2 separate regions of the Homo sapiens genome follow, and region 1 is linked to region 2. The links are contacts of gene promoters, found by promoter capture Hi-C in human tissues and cell types (Jung and others, 2019). All regions are on one chromosome and are shown on one strand. Each heading gives the region's core, a stretch centred on a gene start or on the middle of the fragment in contact. The rest is flanking DNA. Distances are from core to core; before and after follow the strand shown. Region 1 overlaps MTHFD1 (methylenetetrahydrofolate dehydrogenase, cyclohydrolase and formyltetrahydrofolate synthetase 1). Region 2 holds the start of PLEKHG3 (pleckstrin homology and RhoGEF domain containing G3).

What was found. The method cuts DNA at HindIII sites, captures the fragments that hold promoters and counts their contacts. A contact is called where the count stands out against the background at its distance.
Region 1: a contact is called between a fragment that was not itself captured here and the fragment with the promoter of PLEKHG3 in region 2, in 2 of the 25 tissues and cell types used here (aorta and thymus).

Annotation. Positions count from the first base shown.
Region 1 is chr14:64,406,151-64,411,399 of GRCh38, forward strand. It overlaps MTHFD1 (methylenetetrahydrofolate dehydrogenase, cyclohydrolase and formyltetrahydrofolate synthetase 1), which reads left to right. Exons shown (of 28, transcript NM_005956.4): 3 at 4,940-4,999. Among named protein-coding and RNA genes, the nearest start is that of MTHFD1, 20 kb to the left of the region's middle. The HindIII fragment of the contact is 9,503 bases long and covers 1-5,249 here.
Region 2 is chr14:64,703,166-64,708,243 of GRCh38, forward strand. PLEKHG3 (pleckstrin homology and RhoGEF domain containing G3) reads left to right here and starts at 1,259. Exons shown (of 17, transcript NM_001308147.2): 1 at 1,259-1,539. RefSeq lists an enhancer at 1-39. The HindIII fragment of the contact is 6,175 bases long and covers 1-3,530 here.

The DNA.
Region 1 (5,249 bases), core at 1,715-4,214, 300 kb before region 2:
GCCTCAGCCTCCTGAGTAGCTGGGATTACAGGTGTGTTCCACCACGCCTGGCTAATTTTTGTATTTTTAGTTGAGATGAGATTTCACCATGTTGGTCAGGCTGGTCTTGAACTCCTGACCTCAGGTGATCCGCCTGCCTCGGCCTCTCAAAGTGCTAGGATTACGGACATGAGCCACTGCTCCCGGCCAATTTTATATATTTTTAATAATATTTTGCATGAAATGCACTTTTAACTGTGTTTTGACTGTAAGCCATCACATGAGGCCAGGTGTGGAATTTTCTACTTTTGGCGTTGTCAGTGCTCAAAGTTTCTGATTTTGGAGCATTTTTTATTTGTGGTTTTTTTTTTTTTTTTTTTTGAGACAGGGTCTCACTCTGTTGTCCAGGCTGGAGTGCAGGGGTGTGATCACAGTTCATTGCAGCCTGGATCTCCCAGGCTCAAGCTATCCTCCCATCTCAGCCTCCTGAGTAGCTGGGACTACAGGCATCCAGCTAATTTTAGTATTTGAGACAGAATTTCTCCATATTGCCCAGGCTAGTCTCAGACTGAGCTCAAGTGATCCACCTGCCTTGGCCTCCCAAAGTGCCGAGTCACCGCACCTGACTGATTTTGGATTTTTGAGTTAGGGATCTTCAACCTGTACTACTTATATAGAGTGTCTACAATAATTCAAATTGTTTGTTTATATTTCTAATCGTTCTATGTTTTATACTACCCTACGATGTAGGAGATGTCCCCTTATAGCCATAGTAACTCATGCTCAAAGATCTTGGGTAGCTTGCCCAAAGCCAGTCAGGAAGGGACTGAGTCTGGGAAATGAACCCAGATCTGTCTCTAAAACCCATTTGTTCTTCCCCTTTGTTTTCCTAATTCCTTAGCAATGCATTCAAGAACATTCATGATCTGGCCCAAGTATATATTTAAAAGTTGAGTTTTCATTTTTTTTTAATAAAGTGGATGAGTAACTTCCCAAATAACTGAATATTTATAGGAAATTAAGACTTGACTTTTCATTATAAGAGATACTAATGGGCTAGGCATGGTGGCTCACGCCTGTAATCCCACCACTTTAGGAGGCCAAGGCGAGTGGATTGCTTGAGCCCAGGAGTTCAAGACCAGCCTGGGAAATATAGAGAGACTTTGTCTCCAAAAAAATACAAAAATTAGCTGGTTGTGGTGGTGCTTGCCTGTAGTCCCCACTACTGAGGAGGCTGAGCTGGGAGGATTGCTCACGCCTGGGAGGTTGAGGCTGCAGTGAGCTGTAATCGTGTCATTGCACTCCAGCCTGGGTGACAGAGCAAGACTTTGTCTCAAAAAAAAAAAAAAGTTTCTGGTAAGGTGATAGAAATACAGCCTCAGCCCCATAGCCTCATTAGTATCTCTCACTCTCTCTCTTTTTTTTTTTTTTTTGAGTCAGAATCTTGTTCTGTCATGCAGGCTGGAGTGCAGTGATGTGATCTCTGCTCACTGAAACCTCTGCCCTCCCCTGTCCCCCAGGGGATCCTCCCACCTTAGCCTCCCAAATGAGCTGGGACTACAGGCACACCACCATGCCCAGATAATTTTTGTATTTTTTGTAGAGATGGGGTTTCGATATGTTGCCCAGGCTGGTCTTTAACTCCTGGGCTCAAGCAATCCACACACCTTGACCTCCCAAAGTGCTGGGAGTATAGGCATGAGCCACTGCACCTGGCCAAAAAACTGATTTTTAACAGTATTCGGGAACTATTCAGAGTGCTTTATGTATAGTAACTCATTCAGTCCTCACAAAATACATGGACAGAATACAGTTAATAAACTCAACTAGCCTGTATCTTCATAAGGTTTTCTGAAACAGAAAGAAAAATGAACCAGTAGACCAATACCCAAGATATCTTACGGTGTAGAACACAGATTAGTAAACTGTGGCCCGTATCCAAATGCTGCCCAGTTTATAAAGAGTTAAAAAAGCAATAGCAGCAGCTGCTGTGACACGGTATGTGTCCCACAAAGCCTAAAATATACACCGTCTGCCCCTCTACAGAAAGTTTGCAGACTCCTGGTATAAAAAAAAAGTGTCCCTAACCTGTTCTGGAATAGGATCTTTTTTGGATGATGTAGTACTCAGCCACCTTCAAGGAGAAATCAGCATTCTTTTTTTTTTTTTTTTTTTTGAGATGGAGTTTCACTCTTGTCGCCCAGGCTGGAGTGCAATGGCACGATCTTGGCTCACTGCAACTTCTGCCCCCGGGGTTCAAGGGATTCTCCTGCCTCAGCTTCCCAAGTAGCTGGGATTACAGGTGCACACCATCATGACTGGCTAATATTTGTATTTTTAGTATAGATGGGGTTTCACCATCTTGGCCAGGCTAGTCTCGAACTCCTGACCTTAGGTGATCTGCCCGCCTTAGCCTCCCAAAGTGCTGGGATTACAGGCGTGAGCCACCATGCCCGGCCAGAATACACGTTCTTTAAACATTCTTTTTGCATCTAGTCTATCAATGGTTCTATAACCACTTTCCCCTATAAAATGCCTATACTGGCCAAGTGTGGTGGCTCACACCTACCTAGCACTTTGGCAGGCTGAGGCAGGAGGATTGCTTAAGCCCAGGTGTTTGAGACCAGCCTGGGCAATAGAGAAACTCCATTTCTACAAAAAATACAAAAATTGGCTGTTTGTGGCAGCGTGTACTGGTAGTCCTAGCTTCTTGGGAAGCTGAGGTGGGAGGATTGCTTGAGCCTAGGAGTTGCAGGCTGCAGTGAGCCATGATCATGCTACTGTACTCTAGGCTGGGTGGCAGAGTAAGACCCTGTCTCAAAAATAATAAATAAATAAATAAAACCTATACTAAGAGTGACTCTTTGAATTGGCTTTTAGATGTCTTTTCCAATAAAACTTTGACATACGCTCATAACTATAACTATTAAGTTTTCTTTCTGGAACTGGTTGTAGTTTTAGTGTTTTAGACAAACTCCTTCAGAAATATTCAGGCCGAAAATAGTTACATGTAAAGGAACAACAACAGCGAGAGACTTCAGACTTCTCCTGTGTGACATTAGATGCCAAAGACAACATCTCCGAAGGAAAATGCTGTCACTCCAAATCAGGCAAGGCCAGTCAAGTGCAAGGGACAGCAGAAAAATATTTTCAGTTATACAGACTTAGAAACATGTCCACCTACCTTTCCTGGAAAACTGACTTATAAGTTACATTTCACTTACTTGAAACATGAATGAAGATAAATTCTAGAACAGAGAAGTTGTGGCTTCCTTACTGGCAGCAAGTGATAAAACAATTTAATCTCAGAGTTAAGACTAAATAACTAGTGGTAGGTATAAATATGAATGAAATTGTAAAAAAATAATACTTTTGTATTTAGAACCACCTCCTTTCCTACTTTGATCTAAAAATTCCGGAATGTATCAAATCTGGTAACTGAACCAGTGAGGGTTGGGTGGTGGGGCAAAGAACATACATAGAAAGTGACCAAAGAGGAAACATGAGAGGCACGAAAAGTCTAGGGAAGCCCCTACGAGAAGCATCTAATGTACTTAGATACAAATAACCCATTAAAAAAAAAGGTAGAATTCCCCTCAAAGGACTCTTCTGGCTCTTGCAATTCAAATTAGCACCACAAAACTGAGAACTGTCTGTATAAGGGACAACTGAAGCTAAGATTCAGGCCATGTCCTGAGATCTGAGGAGAGCGTCCAGTAATAGCACCAATATGACAAGCTCAGAAAATCCTGTGTTACAAAAGCCGGCTTCTTTCTCTGCCATGGTCCTGTTAAAAGGAGCTGTGCTTCAGTTGTCTTTGATATGAAGGGACCACCACCTTTCCCTCTGTGATACCCTCTGCAATTCTGGGAGAAACACAACTTATGGTAGCATGTATCAACCTTGAGAAGGAGAAATACCAACCACTGGAGCATGAAACAATATTAGTACAATAAAATTTTACAAATAAATGGTTATAATGATAAACTATAAATATGTTCATGGTCAAAGAAACAGAGGGAACATAGTGAGACACTGCATGGTGGTTCAAAGGATTTAGCCTCTGCACTACAAGTTTCTCCCTGTCTCTCTCTTTTTTTTTTAAGAGACAAGGTCTCTCTCTGTTGCCCAGGCTGCCCAGGCATAGTACCATGACTCACTGTGCACTGGTGCAATCATGGAAAAACTCTTGACCTCAAGTAATCCTCCCACCTTGGCCTCCTGAGTGCTGGGACTACAGGCAGGCACCACTATGCCTGGCTAATTTTTTGTAAAGATGGGGGGGGGGGTCTCACTATGTTGCCCAGGCTGGTCTCGAACTCCTGGGCTCAAACGATCCTCCTCCCTTGGCCTCCCAAAGTGCAGGGATTATAGACCTGAGTTGCTGCACCCGGCCTCCTCTCTGTGTTGGGGCCAGCAGATTGCCCTTTGTCTTGCCTGGCTGTTTATTCTGTGTAAACTAGAGGGAGGTCCTTCCACCCTCCTTTCTATTGTCTGTGTGGCGGGGCCAGGGAGCTTTCCATTGCCCCTGCGGGTGGGGGAGAGGGTGTGGAATGTGCCCTCTGGGTGCTCCTGCCTCTCAGGCATTTTTCTTGCCTGATGACAGTTTCTCAGCCCTCCATACTCTGTTTTTCTGGTATGGCAGCAGAAATCCCACATGTTTCTAGTAGGCCTGCAGCATCCTTGCTTAGTTTCCAGTGCAGATGCAGATATCCTCTACTTTCTGTTTGGGGTTTGGCAGTGGGAACCAGGTGGGCCTTGTTTAGGGGAGGGGCTGTAACACCATCTGTGTTCACATAATCCCTCCTGCCCCCACAGCCTCCCTATACTCCTGTAAAAGTTCTCTGCAACAAGAGTCGCATGATTAAACATTTCTTTTATTAAAACTAAAATTGTAGAAGCTTTTCTGTGCACTTTGCCTTTCCCTAATCATCTGATTTGCATGCATTTATTATTCTAGGTTGGCAACAGAGATGATTCCAATCTTTATATAAATGTGAAGCTGAAGGCTGCTGAAGAGGTAACGCCAGAAGAGCTGTGCCATCACCCTCCCCAACCTCCACCTGGGTCCTATCGATTACCCCTTGCCCTTTTTGGTCCTCCCTGTGAAAACTTTTATCACCCACAGGAGACATTAGTTTATCTATTTTGTAAGTCAGAAATGGGTGGGTTAGATCTGTGGCCTCTGGTTTGCCCGTGAGTTTTTGTTTTCTCATTAATGATTTTCTTCCCAAAGAGCAGGATGTCAATTGAGGAAAGTGACAAGTCTC
Region 2 (5,078 bases), core at 9-2,508:
CAAGCCTCCAACACACCCTCCCTCCCTAAGGAATGTGGGCCCCGCTTTCTGGGCCTGCCAGACCGAGCGCCTACCGCTTCCTCCGCAGGCAGGAGCCGGGACGCTGCCTTCACCCCACCCTCCGCCAGGATCCAGTTTCAAAGTCACCTGAAAGCCATTTCCTTCCGCGCCTGCCCCGCCTCTCCCCTCCCAGTAGATCACCTGGAGCTTGCATTTGCCCAGAGCAGCATTTTGGGGCGGGCGCTTGTTTTGTTTTAAATGATACCTCTAGAAATCGTTTGCTGTACACCTGGATAACAAATATACCCCGTGGTTCTAATATCAGCGTCCTATTCCTCCTCCCAAGGAACTAGTGATAGCGCCTAACCAGTGGGCGTTGTTCCTCTTCCGGAGCCCCACTCTGGGCTTCCCTCCTCCGGGCTTGTTGTTCTTCAGGATCTTTACTGATGAATTATTATGGGTTTTTGGATTTATGCTCTTGCTCAAAATGTATTGAATGTCTCTGTCCCCCATCCTCACCCCTTGCCCCCCAGTTTCCAGGTGTGTACCTTTCCATGCATACACGGTCATATACAGAGACATAAAGACAAACGGTTCTCTTTGTTTTATAAAAACGGGTCCTCTATCATCCAGGTTTCTGTGTTTTATTTTTCCTATTTAACAGTTCCTTGTGGAGTTGCCTTCACGTTGTCTCCTTTATCTCTTTCCCGTCAGCTTCTCAGAGGTCTGCATTTACCACTGTAAAGCGTCACAGGGACCGAGTTATGGTGAGGAATTCAAGACATGCCTTTCTGACTTGGAAAAGCGGACACGGCCGGCTCTGGTAGGATTAGGATCCCCAGATCGATCCCGGCTGGTCACTCACTTGGGAAAGCCCTCAGCCCCCTTCGCAGGGCCCGGTGTTCCCTGTCCATACAAGGGGTACGTTCTGGCAGTCCATGCTGTCTCGGGAGGCGGTGATAGCAGGTCTGTGACACCAGGGTGACCCCACCACGTGCGTCTTGGTATCCTAGAGCATCTAGGCTGCCCGGGGGTGCGCGCTCATCACCCTGCGGGCGTTAATCGTTAACCGCGCCCAGGCCTCGCCGCCGCCGCAGCCTTACCCCGGCTCTGGCTCGCCGCGCCGCGAAGGTTGCCCCGGCCCCCGCAGAGCCGCCAATTGCTGGACTGCAGCCGCGAGCTGGAGTCTCCACCCACAGGAAAAATTCCTGGCCCGCCCCTCCCTCGCTCCCTCGCTCCCTCGCTCCCTCGCTCCCTCGCTCCCTCGCTCCCTCGCTCCCTCCTGCCCTCCCGCTGCAGCTCCGGCTCCGCTCGACTTCCTGCCGGGCGCTGGCAAGCCGCGCGCTGCCTGGGGTCTCCGGGGGCCGCGCTTGCAGCTGGCCGAGTCCGGGCCAGCTGAGGGGCTGGCGGTGGGCGGGAGCGGTCGGCGGCCTCAGCCCCTTCAGAGAGCGACTTTCAAACTCGCGCCCGCGTCGCGGCAGCACCTGGGCAGCCCCGCACGCCGTGCGCGTCCCGAGCCCGCGGGGCAGCTACCGCTCGGTGAGTGTCCCCTGATTCTCCTCTCTCCCCTCTTATCTCCCTGCATTAGGCTGAGCGGCGGTGCCGGCAGTCACGCTGGGGCCCCAGTCCCTTCGCGGCCCCCGTGCCAGCCCCCTGCGGGGTGAGGACCGGGGCGACCGAGGAGGGCCTGGAACTGTGTTGGCTGCTTCCCGGGCCACCCTGCCGCAGAGTGCGCGAGCGCAGGAGGGTCGTATGGGGAGACTTTTTCTGTCTTTTTTTCCCTCCACTCCGGAAACAAAAGGGGCAAATGCGCCGGGCGGCTCCAGAGAGGCTCAGTTTGAAATCCAGGAAGCCCGCGAGGCCGCGCGCGCCCGAGGGCTGGTGTTTGGCTGGAGCTGTGGGCCTGGCGGGTGGACCCTTCTGCGCGAGGACCCGAGCCTCGGCTCCTGCCAGCCCCGGAGGCGCCTGCAGCCTGTTCCGGGTTGGCGCCGCACGGTGCTCGCTGTTGGGAATCTCGGCTACCTGTCCGGCAGGGAGGAGAGTGGGGGCCAGAAGCGGGGAGCGGAAAGCCCGGCCACCAGCTGCCTCGACCTCGTCCACTCCTGAAGTCGGTTTGGTTCTTCGCACCCCTACACCCAGCCCTTTGGTTTGGAAAGCCAGTATAAGGCGTGCAAGCTTAAATTTTTAAGGCGTTAAATAGCTACTTTGACTCTTCGGGGCGCCTTTGGAACACAAAAGGAAGAACGGAGGGGAGAATGGAATGGTTGGAGGCTGGAGAGGTGTGGCTTTTGGGGAGGGTGTTGTTAGAGGCCGCGAAAGAGTTTGATCCTCGAGGTCACTCGCTAATCTGTTGGCATATGTAGGTGCCTGTCCCCTGCTCTGGGGGCCCCAGCAGGAGACCCACACTGCGTTCACCTTACGGGGAACCCTGGAGTGGGGGTTCCCAGAGTCTCCCCAGCCGTGCCTCTGCACGCAGCCCAGTCACATGGCCCTTGCTCAAGAAATAATAAGCAGGGAGGGCAATGACAGTCCGGAGCGGGGGAGGGCCTCCCCGTTGAGCACATCGGCCACCTCGCCTTCAGCAGTGTGGTTTTCCGGGCCATCCTTTGTTGGACAAGGATGGGATCCTGAGTGATTAAACCCCAGCTGTTCCCCAGGAGGAAACTAGGGAGTGAGAACCAAAAGTGTACATTTATCTCTCTGTTATACATCTCTCCCCTGTGGTTCCGGGCTGGCCCCCTGGATGCAATGGCCTCACTTCTCCTTTCGACACCTGCTGTCCTCCACTCCCTTCCTGGAAGATAGGACAACCCATTAGCTCCCTGGGTAACTTGCCCTGGGGATGGGGCAGGAAGTTGGGGGAAGAGGTACCCAGAGGCCAAGTCCTAGCTGCTGAGGGAGTGATTTGTTGAAGAGCTGCTTTGGGGGCTTTTCTACTGCCTTTTATTAGAAGTGGCATGGCAGGGGAAGTGGAAAGAGCACTGGCCTGATAGTCCAGCACGGGTTTATGCCTGAGTTTTAGACCTGGCTCTTCTGCATAGCATGGAAGATTGGTAGAGTTGAAGAGTGCGAGTCACTTGGGCTGGGGGGCCCCTTGGATTAGCCTACTTCATTTACTCGTGAAGGCAGCAGAGCCCAGAGGGGTGAGGTGATTTCAGCCTTAGACCCTATTGGCCAAGTAGAAACCAGAGGTCAGATGTCCTCATTGTCTGATCTGTGTTTTCTCCAACATGATCTGGCCAATTCACTTATCTTTTCTGACTCAGTTTCCACATAAATAAAGTGGGATTACTTGCCTGCTCTTCCTCATAGGAGCTGTGGTGAGGATCAAAGGAAGCCTCATTTGTGGAAAGTGCTCCATAAACTCCTGTTAAAACTAAAGGGCTCACAGTGGCTCGGGAGGGAGTCTCCCAAGGGTTTTACAATTTGCTGGCTATGTCCCACGTGTGTGCCACAAGGAGACGTTAGATACCAGGAGCCATTGTTGGATGTTTAAAACACCCTGGTCTTAATATCTCAGCCCCAGAGTAAACATTTGCCTTACCAAATCCGCAGCTATCCCACGGTCACTGTTTACGCTGGAAGAGGCCAAAGGCCACGGCCTGCGGGATGACCAGGGCTGGAGGGGGAAGGCTCCTCTGTTGCAGAGGTATGCCTTGCCCGTTCTCTTCTCCCAGCTCCCAGAACCTTGTGAAGGCTCCAGCTGTAAGCCAGGGGTGCTGCCACAAGCCCAGGCCGCCCTGGCCTTGGAGGGTTAAAAGTGAAGCCCTCTGGCTATTCTCTGTTGTGTTGGGGGTTGCAGGGACTCTGGGAGGGTGTTGCTTTTGCAGCTGCACTGAGGGCTGTCTTCAGCTCCTCATCTGTGCCCCCTCCCCCATCTCAGGCCGCCCCTCTGGCCCAGGCCACTGCTCTGTCCCGCCTCTCTGGCCAGCTGCAAGTCCACAGGCCTTTGTTCCGTGGCTGCAAACCCGCCCTACTCCATCCTCCCTCCTCAGCAGAAGCCCTCCAGCGGGGGCCCTGGCAGCTGGAAATCACAACTGCCAGGAGGAAGGGGCTACTGGAGCCCCCAGCGGACCTGGCAGATCCTCATTTCCTCTTGTCAAGCTCATCTGGGCCCCACAACTCACCTCTGGCCAGATTCCCACACCGTCTTTTCTCATCTCTCCTTTCTTCTGCTGAATGGACGGATCACCTTTTCCTCCCAGTACTCATGCCCCTTAGTTCTATTTTAAAGTACTCTATTCATTCATTTAATAGTTAAGGAGTTAGCACCTACTATGTATGAATGCCAGATGCAGAAGACACAGCAGTGAAGAAAATATACAATAATTATTGACCCAGTGGAGCTGACTTTAGCAGAAGTGACAATAAACAAGATTGAAATAGCAAGTGTGTTAGTGATAAACAGAAATAAAAAATATGATAGGGAAGGTAGGTGTGAATTGTCATGGAAGGGGTGAGGTGACAGTTTAGATAGGGTGGCCAGGGAGGCTTCCAGGAGGAAGGTACTTTTGAGGTGATGCCTGAAGGCGGTATTTTTCTTCATCGCTGCCTTTTCTAACTTGAAGCCCAGTTCATCCCACTGTGGCATCGAGGAACAGAGTTTGGAGTTGGACACACCTTGGTTTCAAATCCCTGGCTTGACAGCTCACTAGCCCTGTGGACTTTGATGTGGTGCTAAATTCCTTTGAGCTGTGTTTCTTACCCAACGTGGAGTTAGTCATCATACTTACCACATGCGGCATCATGGCAATGTACAGTGAGATAACGTATGTTGAATGCTTAGCAAAGACTATAGAGAGGTTCGATAAACTATTTCTCCAACCAAATTCTGCAGGGGTAGCATGAGATATTTAATGTCATTGCTAAGGACTGTAGGTGCAAAGCTTTTCATTTTAGATATTGGGCAGGAGTGGGGAATTAGAGGGAGGGGAAAATAGAAAACCTTGGCAAAAACTTTCTGGTTAGGGAGGCTTTCCTGCCCTACCCTAGATTGCAGATGGCTGAGGACGTGGGACTCCCAGGTATGTCCTATGCCCACCCCCATCCTACAGATAGGATGACAGGGGCAGCCCTGA